4 separate regions of the Homo sapiens genome follow, and all the other regions are linked to region 2. Evidence: promoter capture Hi-C in human tissues and cell types (Jung and others, 2019). All regions are on one chromosome and are shown on one strand. The core of a region is centred on a gene start or on the middle of the fragment in contact, and the rest is flanking DNA. Distances in the headings are between cores, read along the strand shown. Region 1 overlaps SIPA1L1 (signal induced proliferation associated 1 like 1). Region 2 holds the start of DCAF4 (DDB1 and CUL4 associated factor 4). Region 3 overlaps SIPA1L1 (signal induced proliferation associated 1 like 1). Region 4 overlaps SIPA1L1 (signal induced proliferation associated 1 like 1).

Evidence for each region. The method cuts DNA at HindIII sites, captures the fragments that hold promoters and counts their contacts. A contact is called where the count stands out against the background at its distance.
Region 1: a contact is called between a fragment that was not itself captured here and the fragment with the promoter of DCAF4 in region 2, in 1 of the 25 tissues and cell types used here (dorsolateral prefrontal cortex).
Region 3: a contact is called between a fragment that was not itself captured here and the fragment with the promoter of DCAF4 in region 2, in 1 of the 25 tissues and cell types used here (dorsolateral prefrontal cortex).
Region 4: a fragment that was not itself captured here is called in contact with the fragment with the promoter of DCAF4 in region 2 in 1 of the 25 tissues and cell types used here (aorta).

What each region holds. Positions count from the first base shown.
Region 1 is chr14:71,666,497-71,669,834 of GRCh38, forward strand. All of the region lies in intron 10 of SIPA1L1 (signal induced proliferation associated 1 like 1), which reads left to right. Among named protein-coding and RNA genes, the nearest start is that of RGS6, 260 kb to the right of the region's middle. The HindIII fragment of the contact is 5,487 bases long and covers 1-3,338 here.
Region 2 is chr14:72,924,431-72,927,713 of GRCh38, forward strand. DCAF4 (DDB1 and CUL4 associated factor 4) reads left to right here and starts at 2,034. Exons shown (of 14, transcript NM_015604.4): 1 at 2,034-2,113. RefSeq lists enhancers at 146-1,012, 1,413-1,512, 1,803-2,072, 2,744-3,283 and a silencer at 2,243-2,302. The HindIII fragment of the contact is 2,487 bases long and covers 473-2,959 here.
Region 3 is chr14:71,602,762-71,605,655 of GRCh38, forward strand. All of the region lies in intron 5 of SIPA1L1 (signal induced proliferation associated 1 like 1), which reads left to right. Among named protein-coding and RNA genes, the nearest start is that of SNORD56B, 210 kb to the left of the region's middle. RefSeq lists an enhancer at 2,701-2,894. The HindIII fragment of the contact is 3,041 bases long and covers 1-2,781 here.
Region 4 is chr14:71,453,972-71,457,116 of GRCh38, forward strand. All of the region lies in intron 2 of SIPA1L1 (signal induced proliferation associated 1 like 1), which reads left to right. Among named protein-coding and RNA genes, the nearest start is that of SNORD56B, 57 kb to the left of the region's middle. The HindIII fragment of the contact is 3,250 bases long and covers 213-3,145 here.

The DNA of each region.
Region 1 (3,338 bases), core at 382-2,881, 1.3 Mb before region 2:
CTATTTGATGAAATAAAAGAGTTGTTATTCATTTTAAAACTAAAATAGTAATAAGTAGTCATAACAAGGACCCTGATTGTTCAAAACAAATATTAAACTGTGGTCAGTAGGTATGTTTAGGAAGGTAGAAATATGTGTTACTCCTCTCAGAGAGGTTTCCATACCCGGTAATTAAAATGTAATAACTGTTGAAAGGAATCTGTATGATATAGTACAAAAAGCACTTGGAATTAGACCAAATTGTTAAACAGTGCAGTGGGAAGTTGCTTGACATCCACTTAAAATCCTATTAAGTAAAATGTCTAGCATAGGCAGGGAGGAAGCGTGATGCATGTCCATTAAATGTCTGTGTTCATCCTCTTTCCTCTCTGTAAAAAAAAAAAAAAAAAAAAAAGAATTTGCAAGCTTCAGCTGAGAAGAAGAAAAATCCAAGTAGGTCAAGTGATAGAAATTTCTTTCAGAAGGTCTATTTCAAGCCTCAATTAATCAGCATCCCTATTGTCCACTGCAGCTGACCTTTCTAAGACAAGAATCTGATTATGTCATTTATTGTGCTTAAAAGCATTTAGAGGAAAGTTCAGACTTGCAAGCATAGCTTACTGCATGGGGGCTTCAGGTTTGGCCTCCTGTCTCTCAGTCTCATCTACCAGTCTGCACCCCATGCCTACCTCACTCCTTTGGAGCTACTCACCACTCCCCAGAACAGCATGCTCTGCCCCTCCGCTCTGCACATGCTGCTCCTCTCACACATTCCCCTTTCCCTCCATCTGATGAATTCCTGCTTTTCTTTTTTCTGAGAAGGCTCCCTGGACCTCCCAGGACTAAAGTGCCTTTCCTAAGTGCTACCAGTAGCACCCTGTACTTCGCAAGTAGGAGACTCAAATCACTGGCTGTGGCTCCCACCAGACTTTGAGTTTCTGGAGGGCTGAGCCCGGGACATCTTCAGCCTTGATCCTCAGCAAAGGCAAAGTGCCTAGCACATAGTAGGTACTCAGTGACTGGTGGATCAATACTATTAGAAATCGAGAGAATGATTGGCACGTGTTTGATCTTTCCTGTCCTTTGCCCAGATCTGCTTTCTTGGAAGCTGCCCTGGCCAGTAATCTGATTCAGGCTCCAAGAAGAGGAAACTTCCTTCTCCCATTTGATGTTTTCTGTATCACCTTCCTTTTAAATTTTGGGCTGGGGATTGTTGATTATTGCTGTTTTTCCATTGTGCTTCCAAAGTTCAAATGTCTTATATTTCTCAATTTTTATCCACTAAACTGTTCAGAAGTCTTTGAAACAGGCCGGGCGTGTTGGCTCATGCCTGTAATCCCAGCAATTTGGAAGGCTGAGGCAGGCGGATCATGAAGTCAGGAGATCGAGACCATCCTGGCTAACACAGTGAAACCCTGTCTCTACTAAAAATACAAAAAATTAGCCAGGCGAGATGGCGGGCCCCTGTAGTTCCAGCTTCTGGGGAGGCTGAGGCAGGAGAATTGCTTGAACCCAGGAGGCAGAGGTTGCAGTGAGCCGAGATCGCGCCACTGCACTCCAGCCTGGGCAACAGAGTGAGACTCCGTCTCAAAAAAAAAAAAAGTCTTTGGAACATTTTCATGTGTCAGCTTGAAGTTGGCTTTGGGTATCAACACTTGTTATTTCATTCAAGCTCTTTGATGCCAACCAATGTTACATGGCCCATATCGAGTAGAAATAGCCTCATCATCTCTTAGGCCATGTGACCCATGTGAATGGTCCCTTTTAGCAGGCACCTCAGGAGTAGGAGGTTTGAAAGCACTTCCTCAGAGGGAGTAAGTGTGGGCTTGTCGTGGAGCACTCTCTTGGCTGTCCAGAAGCTTACATTCCAATCCTGGCTCTCTCTAACAAATCTGGGTAAATCCTTTTACTTCTCTGTATCTGTTCCTGGAGAAGTGAAGAATTTGTACCAGCTGCTCAACCGGAGGTTCATGAAGATGTCAAACCACAGAATACAAACAAGACACCTTCCTGGTCGCTCAGTGTACCCAAAGATTTTGGAGTGAGAAGATATTTTTATATGAAAATGAACACAAATATTTTTCAGTAGAATGTAAAATCGAGGTGAATTTTCAAATGAAACCCAAAGATTTTACTGAAAGAATTTGAGGAACATTGAGTTCTGTTAAGTTCCCTTCCTGTGATAACTTTCCATCACTGTTTTAGCCTCTAGCTCTGTCTGTCTGTCATCTAGATAACCCTGCTGAGTAGAACATTCCAGTCCTCAACAATGCTGGGTAAATAAAGCATGGCTATGATTTTAAAGCATGTATTATTTCCAAGAAGACACAGAATTGCCAACTAGGCTAATATACATACAGCCAAGCAGAGGCCCTTTGGAATCTGCTTTTAAAAATACCAAGAACCGTTTATAATTAATATATCTTAAGTAACTACATGCAGCAAACTGAGATTCTAGAAAGGCTTTTTTTCTAAATATTCTGTTTAGCTTAAACCAGGCCTTATTATCAAGAGTTCAGAATTTGTGGCATCTAAATTAATGAGCTTTTAACCTTGTAGAAACCTTGCCAGTTTGATTTATCCAAAACAAAATCATTTATTTGAAAAGAGCATTCCAGGGTATCATCTTCCTCATCTTCTGTAAGGATTCTATTTCTGACTATGCGAAGCTGATTTCAGTGCCTGTATCATTTACCTCCCTACCACAGTGAATCATTGAAAATTATATGGTAAGGATTCAGTTCTTTTCCTCACAGTTCATTATAGCTGTTTCTAATTATTGGTAGGTTTTCAGTGTATGTTTGTCTAAAGTTCTATCAATTAATAAATGGATCTGCAGAAAGCCAGTTAGTTTAAGGGGCAAGTAGATGGAGGGTGCTTAAAATCACACCCCCTGCTAAACATTTTGCTCTCCTTATTTAAAATAAAATCACAGATATTTTCTGAGAAGGAATAACAATTTGAGTGAAATAGCAGATGAGAAGTTGCCAATTTTAAAGTGAAAGATATTAAATATTTCTGGATTCTTACAGGATTCCACTTAGAAAAATCTAGCAAACCTGGATTTCAGCATCTTTTGCTTGACTTTAAGAGAAAAATAACACGATCAAATTAAAATTATACAGCTGTCAGCGTTCAAGTCAGGCAGTTCACAATAGACAAGAAAAATTGCCTTCCTAATACATATTGGTATAATTAAGCCATATGGAAGTCTCTGAATTCTCTCCTCCAGTTAGAAAATGGAGTGTTGGTTGCCACTGTTCTTTGTCATGAAGTGAACTAGGTAGTCTTTTAAAAATACACTTGTAAAACCAACAGATAGGCCATCCCATGGCATCTTCTGAGCATGTAGCTTTTCC
Region 2 (3,283 bases), core at 784-3,283:
TCATTTGTTCACTGATTTGCAAACATTCTTTAATCTTTCATCTGTGTGTGTTGCAGGTCCCCGAGGTATATCTCATGCCCACGTCACTGTCCCCTCTGTGGACATTCAACAGAGCCTGCTGGCCGGCTGCCAGCCACTCATTGACTCAGCAAGCCCAAGCCAACTCCTCCTGCCACCTTCCTCAAGTGTCCCCTGGCTCTTCAGTGGAAAATCCAGCTTGACTCCTCCCCGAGAGTTAAGTCTGGCCGATTCTCCCTCTGAATTCTGCCTCCCATCTGTACCCCCCTTCCATCCTGGCTACCCCCACCCTGGTTTGGCCCTCACTACCTTTCACAAGGACTGTTGCTGCAATAAGTTCCTTAGGGGTCTCCCAGCTGACTTCCACAATCTTTTCTCCCCAACCCCCTACACGGTGATTTCCCAGAAGCACAGCTCTAGTCCTGTCACTTCCCAACTCTAGAACCCTCAGAGCCTCCCATTGTCTACTTTTTTTTTTCTTGAGACAGGGTCTCACTCTGTCACCCAGGCTGGAGTGCAATGGCGCTATCTCGGCTCACTGCAACCCCCGCCTCCCGGGTTCAAGCAATTCTCCTGCCTCAGCCTCCTGAGTAGCTGGGATTACAGGCGCCCGCCACCACGCCCGGCTAATTTTTTGTATTTTTAGTAGAGTTGGGGGTTTCGCCATGTTGGCCAGGCTGGTCTGGAACTCCTAGCCTCAAGTGATCCACCCGCCTCAACCTCCCAATGTGCTGGGATTTCAGGCGTGAGCCACTGCACCCGGCCTGACTACTCTTTCCCTGGCAATTGCTGCGTCACCAAGCCCCAACCCACCCTGCTGAGTTTTCCTTCCAAGACTCCCCTCCCATCCAGCCGGCTTGAACCGGCCTCCAGTCACGTTGTTTGTTCAGCTAGAATTTTTCTCTGCCTTCTCTTCAAGGCCGCTCAAGCTTCATGAAGCGGTTCTTTATTCTGACTATGCCCACTTCTCTCATTTCCCTCATCACCCGGCCCCGCTCCACATACTGCATTTATCTATAAACTCCTGAGAGCCAGGAGTTTAGCCTGAAATCCTAGCTTCCTGGTTAAGAGCTGAAATGCCTTCGCACGGCGTGCAATGGGTGAACCCCACCGCCTGCTTTCTAACGGGTCCAAGCCGCGGGCAGGGGCCTGTGTTACGGAGCCGCATGACACACCAGGCCTACTGCTGGACCCCAACAAGCCTAGCCTCTGTGAATCCAGCTGTCCTCACAAACTGTCTCTTCGGGACACAAGCCCATCAGAGGCTTCCGTTTTCCTTTCATAAGATCTCATAACCGTCAGCTGATACCTGGGACAGGCACAGCACACATAGGTCATTCTAGAAATATTGGTGGTCTGAACAAACTCTAAGCTGGAGAGGACATGAGAATGATAGATCCGATTCCTTCTCTCAACAGAAGAAATCAAGGCACAGAGAAGGGAAGAGACTCGCCCTAGGTCCCACAGCAAGCAGCAGTACTGGAGCCAACACGGAGGCCCCCCGGTTTCACGGTCAGGGCTCGCTACGCTACACCCTGAACGCAGACCCAGGGCAGCGGCCTCGGCCGCCTGAGGCCACTGCCGAAGACTTCGCCGCCAGTCGTAACATCACGTTACTTCTGTCCCTCGCCTCACAGACTCCTTCGCTCTTTCCACTACAGCGAGAGGACTTCTCCAGGGCCGCATCACCCTGCGGAGGGAGGAAGACACGGTCTCTCACGAAAGGGTCTCCAGACAGTTCCGCTGCTCCGGGAGCAGCCCCCGGCCCCGCCCCCGCGTGCGCCTGGCCCCACCCCCAAGCGCTCCATGACCAGCCTCCACGTGCATCCGCCCCAGACAGGCCAGGCCTGGGAGGAGCCGAAGCCCCACTCCCCGCCTTCTTCATGAGATCGTCCCTATTGACGTCGACAGACAGAAGCCGCGTCCAGTGAGAAGGAAAGAACGGCCGCTATAGCCCTATCGGCTGCTACAACACCAAAACGCATCCACCTAACTGGCTGACGCTACACCTTGGTCTTTCCGGGTCCTTGCACGCTTCGCTCCAACTCCTGCAGAGCTGAGCCGGAGGGGAATCCGGAAGGGACACGCTGAACAGGTAAGACTGTGCTGCCTGGGGTGCCTACTGGCATCGATTCGAGGGCTGCCGCGCTCCCGCTGCAGAGCTCGGGGTGGGAGACAGGCGCGGCGAGGAAGGCCAGGGAAAGGGGCGGGGAGGGGCGGGGAGGAGTGAGCACGTGGAACGCCGGCGCCACCGGGCCTAGGTGGCAGCTGGGCCGGCGCGCTCCGCCCGTTCTGGGGCGCGTGGGGCCCTCCGGCCGGATCAGTGCTGCAACCGTAAACACGCAGGGAGGGCACCCCGAGTGTCGCCGCTGAGGGCGTTTCTCTAAGCGCTTCTCTGAGACCTGCTGCTGAAGGCCCCACCCGACACCTGGCGGGGGCTGGGCTGCGGGCCTTGGGGCGGTGTCCCCTGTGAATGTTCAGGTCAGCATAACAGGTTAGGTGTGGTTGAAGCTTACGAAGTGGCCGGCTCTGTGCTGCCGGCTTCACAGGCGCTAACATTTGCCAGCGCTATGATGTCCTTGTCAGACGCAGAAAGGGGTGCAGTTTGGTTGTCCGTCGGGGTAGCGCACAACTAGCAAGTGATGGGGCCTGGGTTTGGCCCTCGCCTCCACTCTGAGTTGTGAGTTAGCGAGAAAGCCACGCCTCGTGGGCTCCCCGGGGGCTTCAGAAACCATGACGCCTTTCACCATGGTGTTCTACAGGCATTGTCTTGTGACTCCAGCAGCGCAGCCAGAAGCAAAGAAAACTGAGGGGACGGCTTCCTAGAGGAAACAATTCCAAAGTCCCAAACTCTGATTTTAAATAACGATGGAAATTAGAGTCGCGGTGGTGTTCTTTTTTTTTTTTTTTTTTTTTTTTTTTTGAGGCGGAGTCTCGCTGTCGCCCAGGCTGGAGTGCAGTGGCACGATCTCGACTCACTGCAGCCTCCGCCCCCGGGGTTCACGCCATTCTCCTGCCTCAGCTTCCCGCGTAGCTGGGGCTACAGGCGACCACCACCTCGCCCGGCTAATTTTTTGTATTTTTAGTAGAGACGGGGTTTCACCGTGTTAGCCAGGATGGTCTCGATCTCCTGACCTCGTGATCCGCCCGCCTCGGCCTCCCAAAGTGCTGGGATTACAGGCGTGAGCCACCGCGCCCGGCCTGAGGTGGTGTTCTGTGGGTAACCAGGCCTGGGGGTCCTACCAACAGAGGTGGAATCCCTGTT
Region 3 (2,894 bases), core at 11-2,510, 1.3 Mb before region 2:
AAGCTCTGCCTCTAGTCAGAACAGCGTCGGCATTAAATTCTCATAGGAGCGCAAATGAACCCTACTGTGAACTGCACATGCGAGGGATCTAGGTTGTGCCCTCCTTATTAGAATCTAATGCCTGTCCCCTGTCCCCACCATCCATGGAAAAATTGTCTTCCATGAAACCTGTTCCTGGTGCCAAAAAGGTTGGGGACCACTGCTCTAACTATAATAGTATTGGAGTCTTTCTCTTTAAATCTAATAATGTTTTGTTTATGTATCTGGGTGCTCTGGTGGTGAGTGCAGATATGTTTAGAATTGTTACATCTTTTTGCTGAGTTGATCTATCTTATATAATGGCCTTCATTGTCTCTTACTTTGTTTGACTTAAAGTCTGTTTTATCTAAGTCTACCTATTCCTGCTCACTTTTGGTTTCCATTTCCATGGAATACCTTTTTTATCCTATTACTGTAGTTTGTATGTTTCTTCAGAGGTAAGATGAGTTTCTTGTGGATATTATATAGTTGGATCATATATATATTTTTTTTCAAATCAGCCGATCTATATCTTTTCTGTGGAAAATGTAATCTATTTACATTCAAGGTTATTATTTATAGGGGGGACATATTTCTGTCACTTTATTAATTGATTTCTAGTTATTTTATATATCGGTTTCTTTCTCATGTTATTTACCACTGTGATTTGGTGGTTTTCTTTTTTTTTCTTTCTTTTGAGACAGATGCTTACTCTGTTATTTAGGCCAGAGTACAGTGGTGTGATCATGGCCTACTGCAGCCTTGAACTCCCAGGCTTTAAGTGATCCTCCCACCTCAGCCTCCTGAATATCTAGGACTACAGGCATGTGCCACCATGCCTTACTAATTAAAAAGAAATATAGCCGGGCATAGTGGCCCACGCCTGTAATCCCAGCACTTTGGGAGGCCGAGGCGGGTGGATCACGAGGTCAGGAGTTCGAGACCAGCCTGGCCAAGATGGTGAGACCCCATCTCTGCTAAAAATACAAAAAAATCAGCCAGGCACGTGCGTGTAATCCCAGCTACTCAGGAGGCTGAGGCAGGAGAATCACTTGAACCTGGGAGGTGGAGGTTGCGGTGAGCCGAGATTGCACCACTGCACTCTAGCCTGGGCAACAGAGCAAGAGCAAGATATATATAAATATATATATATTTATATATCTATATATATTTATATATATTTATATATAGATATATTTATATATATTTATATATATATAAATTTTTTTTTTTTTGAGACAAAGTTTTGCTCTCTCAACCAGACTAGAGTGTAGAGGCCTGATCTCAGCTAACTGCAACCTCTTGCCTCCCAGGCTCAAGTGATCCTCCTGCCTCAGCCCCCTGAGTAGCTGGGACTATGGGCACATGCCACCACGCCTGGCTCACTTTTATATTTTTTTATAGAGATGAGGTTTCACCATGTTGCCCTGGCTGGTCTTGAACTCCTGAGCTCAAGCCATCTGCTCCAGCCTCCCACAGTGCTAGAACAATATAGGTTTGAGCAACTGCACCTGGCCTTAGCTAATTTTTTTAAAAATTTGTTTCTAGGGATGAAGTCTCACTATGTTGCCCAAGCTGGTCTCAAACTACTAGGTTCAAGCATTCTTTCTGCCTCAACCTCCCAGAGTGCTGGGATTACAGGTGGGAGCCACTGCACCTGGCCAAGTTTGGTGGATTTCTGGAGTGGTAACATTTTTGTGTGTTTTCATGTTGGTAGTAGTTATCATTCTTTCACTTCCAGGGCTAGGACTCACTTAAGCATTTTTTTTTAGCACTGAATTTAACACTAAAAAAAGATGAGTTATCTCAGCTTTTGCTTGTCTTGGAAAGACTCTTTTTCCTTCATTTATGAAGGATAACTGCTGAGTATAGTAGCCTTGGCTGACAGGTTTATTTATTTATTTTTTTTCTTTTTTTTCCCCAGCACTTCTAATATATCTTCCCATTCTCTACTGGCTTATAAGTTTTCTGCTTAGAATCCACTGTTAGTCTGATGGGGGTCCCTTTATAAGTGACTACACACTTTTCTCTTGCTATTTTTGTCTTTGGCTTTTGATGGTTTGACCAAAATGTGCTGTGGAGAAGACCCTTTTTTATTGTTTCTGTTTGGGGATCTGTAAGCTTCCTGTATCTGGATATCTAAATCTCTTGCTAGACTTGGAATGTTTTTATCTTATTATTTCATTAAATATATTTTCTAACCCTTTGATTTTCTTTTCACCTTCTGGGACTCTGAAAATTTGAATATTTGATTGCTTTATAATGTCTCATGTCACATAAGCTTTGCATTTTTTTATTCTTTTTTTGCAATTTTTGACTGACTATGTTATTTCAAAAGATCTGTCGTCAAGTACTGAGGTTCTTTTTTTTCTGCTTAATCTAGTCTATTGTTGTTGCTTTCAAATGTATTTTGTATTTCATTCAATGAATTCCTCACTTCTAATATTTCTGTTTGTTTCTTTTTATAATTTCTATCTCTTTGGTAAATTTCTCATTCATATTCTGATATATTTGTGTTGTTTTTCAGTATTTGGTTGTATTTCACTGAGCTTCATTAATCAACATTTTGAATTCTTTTTCTAGGATTTTGTATATTTCTTTTTGTTTGGGATCTGTTGCTGGAGACTTAATTCTATTCCTTTTAAGATGTCATATTTCTTAGTTTTTTCATGGTTTCTATGTCCTTACATTACTATGTACACATCTGATGTAACAGTTGCTTCTTGAAGTTTTTTGAGTTTACTTTCATGGGGACGGACTTTTTCTGAAAATGTATCTGTAGTGCTGATTGGGTAGGGCATTTTGACTTTGATTCTGGGTGCATGTAGTAGTATAGTCTCTGTATAATGTCTTTGTCTGTAAACAGCATAAGTTGT
Region 4 (3,145 bases), core at 588-3,087, 1.5 Mb before region 2:
CTGGGTGACAGGGCGAGATTGTTTCAAAAAAAAAAAAAAAAAAAAAAAAAAAAAGGAAAAAAGAAATCCTAGAAAGAGAGTTCATAGATCATCACTTGGCCATCTTAAAATAACATGGAGACTGAACAAACCCTGTGTTCCCAGGTCTGGTGCCAGGCATTGTCATCCATGTTTTCTTACTGTATTCTTAACAGTACTGTGATATAGGCATGTTATACCCATTGTATGTACAAGGCAATTGAGGCTGGAAAAGGTTAAAGGAGGTCACATAATTAGAAAGGGTAGATGGAAATGTCCTAACTCTGATCTTATGATTTTACTTGCGGAAAAACTATAGTATTTAGAACCTTTGGTTTAAATTGAACAACTCTCTGTCAACTCTTTAGCTATCCTGGGCGCCAGTAATATATAAAAGTGGATTGGCAGTTATTGAATCTCAGATAAAGGACTATTAGGGAATTGTATGGAGAGTTGTTCTTGATTTATACTTTCTTATATTAATATTAAGTAAACATTTTAATTAAAGCATCTAATTAAAGGTACAAATATCATTAAATGTAATACCATAGCAGCAAAGAGGTGATTTTTTTAATTGAAGGCTTCTGCTTTCTGGAGAAGGTGGTCTTGGAACTATCTTCGAAGAATGGAATAGACACTTAGAAAATGGACACTTAGAAATTGGTGCCTGATTGGGTGCAAAGGCAGTATAGAGTTTATTTTCTTACAACTGAACAAATATGCTGATTAAACAAATGAGTACCATAAATAAAAGGAGAAACAACAAAAAGCTGTTTATTATAAAACCATAGCTTTCAAGATGAAGATCAGATAAAGCACACATGAGATGGGCCCTATAAGCTCTGGCTCTGTCTACCCGGTGTCACTGCGGTTACTCCCTTTATCTGCCCTTTTACTGTGGAGGTTCAGAATCATGTGCTGAGTGAGACGGGACACCTGATGTCACAGGTTCTTTACACTTTCACGGATACTGTATTCCTGCAGGGATTACCCTTATTGCCTTATTAATATTTGACAGGGGCTGACACAGAGCCAGAACCTGCTAGATCCTTCATGAGTGAATGTACAAGTGAAGATTTGAATGAGATAGAATGCCATGCCTTTTTACTAAGTTCATATTTTTATCATGTACAGATACTTGTTTGAATAGTTGCATTCTGTCTCAGAAAATCATTATAGTGTTAACTGTAACAAGTTGGTTTACAGGTTAGAGGAAATGAGTGTGCAGTTTTGTAACTTTACTTGCAAATTGTTTAGTTTTATCTTTAGCTGTGATTGAATGTATGCCATTGTTTGATCAAGTGAATGGCGAAGTGATTGATTCCAAATGATTGTTTTTCTTGCTTTTTTTCATCCCTTTTCTTAAATTATTTGGACTAGGAGAAAGGAGGAAGAATGGCTTATTCCCGCTGTCTGTATTGCTTGTTTATAGTTTAGAATTCTTTGGAGTTCCATATGATCACGAGACAAAATTCCTAAACTAGAAATTGGTGTGATTTAATTGGTGTGATTTTTATGATTAAATTTGATTATCTTAGGTTATGGTCTTTTGGTAATTCCGAATGCTTATTGAAAGAAGTTTAAGTTAGCAATAATAATAATGTTTACCATTATTATTTAATTTAATTTATATGTGGGACTTTGCTAAAGACTTTGGCATGTAGTATTTAATCTTTAAAATCATCCTGTGAGATGTCAGTGGATGTTCTCATGTTACTAATAAGGGTAAATTGGTTTCTACAAGGTCACATAGTTCGTAAGGGCCTGAGCTGAGATTTGAACCTACATATGTTTGCTTTCAATGCCTGAGTCATTATGTTAAATTGTTCCTTCTTGTTTTTTCCAAGTATTTATGATGCCTTTCCCTTCACATATTACGGTAGCAGGATGTATTCTTACTTATATATTACTTGTTTAATATACTTTTGGTGGTTATTGTTGGTTGGTTTGACATCTTAACTAGTTTGGACAAAACTCTTTCATTTACTATTGTGTTTATGGTATTTAGAAATTGTGTGCGATTTTGTTTTTACAGCTAAAGGGAAAAACGTAAATTATTTTATTTCACATGCAATATCATTTTTTAATTGGCAATTTGGTCTAAACAGTTTTTAACAATCCTCTGAGACAGAACCCTGGTGTTGAGATATTTCTTTTACTAATATGTGTAAAACAACATCTCAAGTTGTTGTGTGGTATAACTGCAAGAGCATAGTACATGGATAGCACAAAAGCAGCCACGGTAAAAAAGCAAAGAGACGAGCAAATCAGATGAGAGAGAACAGACACGCATTAACTGATCCATCATTCATGATATGCTTAGATTTGTGTTTGAAAAGCTTGCAATAAATGTAAGAAATTCTTATTGATACAAGTATTCAACATCTTATATTAAAAATACAACCCTATCAATTTTATGTACTAAAATATTACAGTGGATAACTGTTTATTATACATTGGTCTGCCAGCACTTGTGTGGTAGTGTGGTATGTTTTATGAATCCAGCTGAATAGCATGTCTAGGCAGAACCAAATGTACAATTATATAAAATAGCCCAGGAATTACAGCCAAAAAACATTAATAATTATTGGCAACTCTATATTACTTTGTTTGCATCCTTATAGTGTTGGCTTATTATTACAGAAGAGTTAAAGTTTATTTTCAGACAAAACAGAATGTCTAAAGTGTGTTATATATTAATCCAGTTCTAAAAAGCTTTTACATTTTTAAGTTTTTAATTTTTCAGTCTTTACTCACTCATTTTTCCTGGTGGACGAATCCAGTTTTTAAAATAAAATATATTTTTCTTCCAAACAACCTTTTGTGTTTCTTGATCTGGAGAATTGAATAAATCTAAATAAGAATTATTGCTTCCAGCATTAAGTTTGTGCAGAAGTTTTTTGAAACCAACTTAATAGGACATCAGTATTGCCATCTGAAATCCAAATTTCTCTTATTTATTTATTTTTAAAATTGAGGACAAGGCCTTGCTACATTGCTCAGGCTGGTCTCAAACACCTAGCCTCAAGCAATCCTACTGCCTTGGCCTCCCAAAGTGCTGGGATTACAGTAAATATCTTTTAAATGGAGACTTACTGACACTGTGTAGAATATATTTTTTAATACT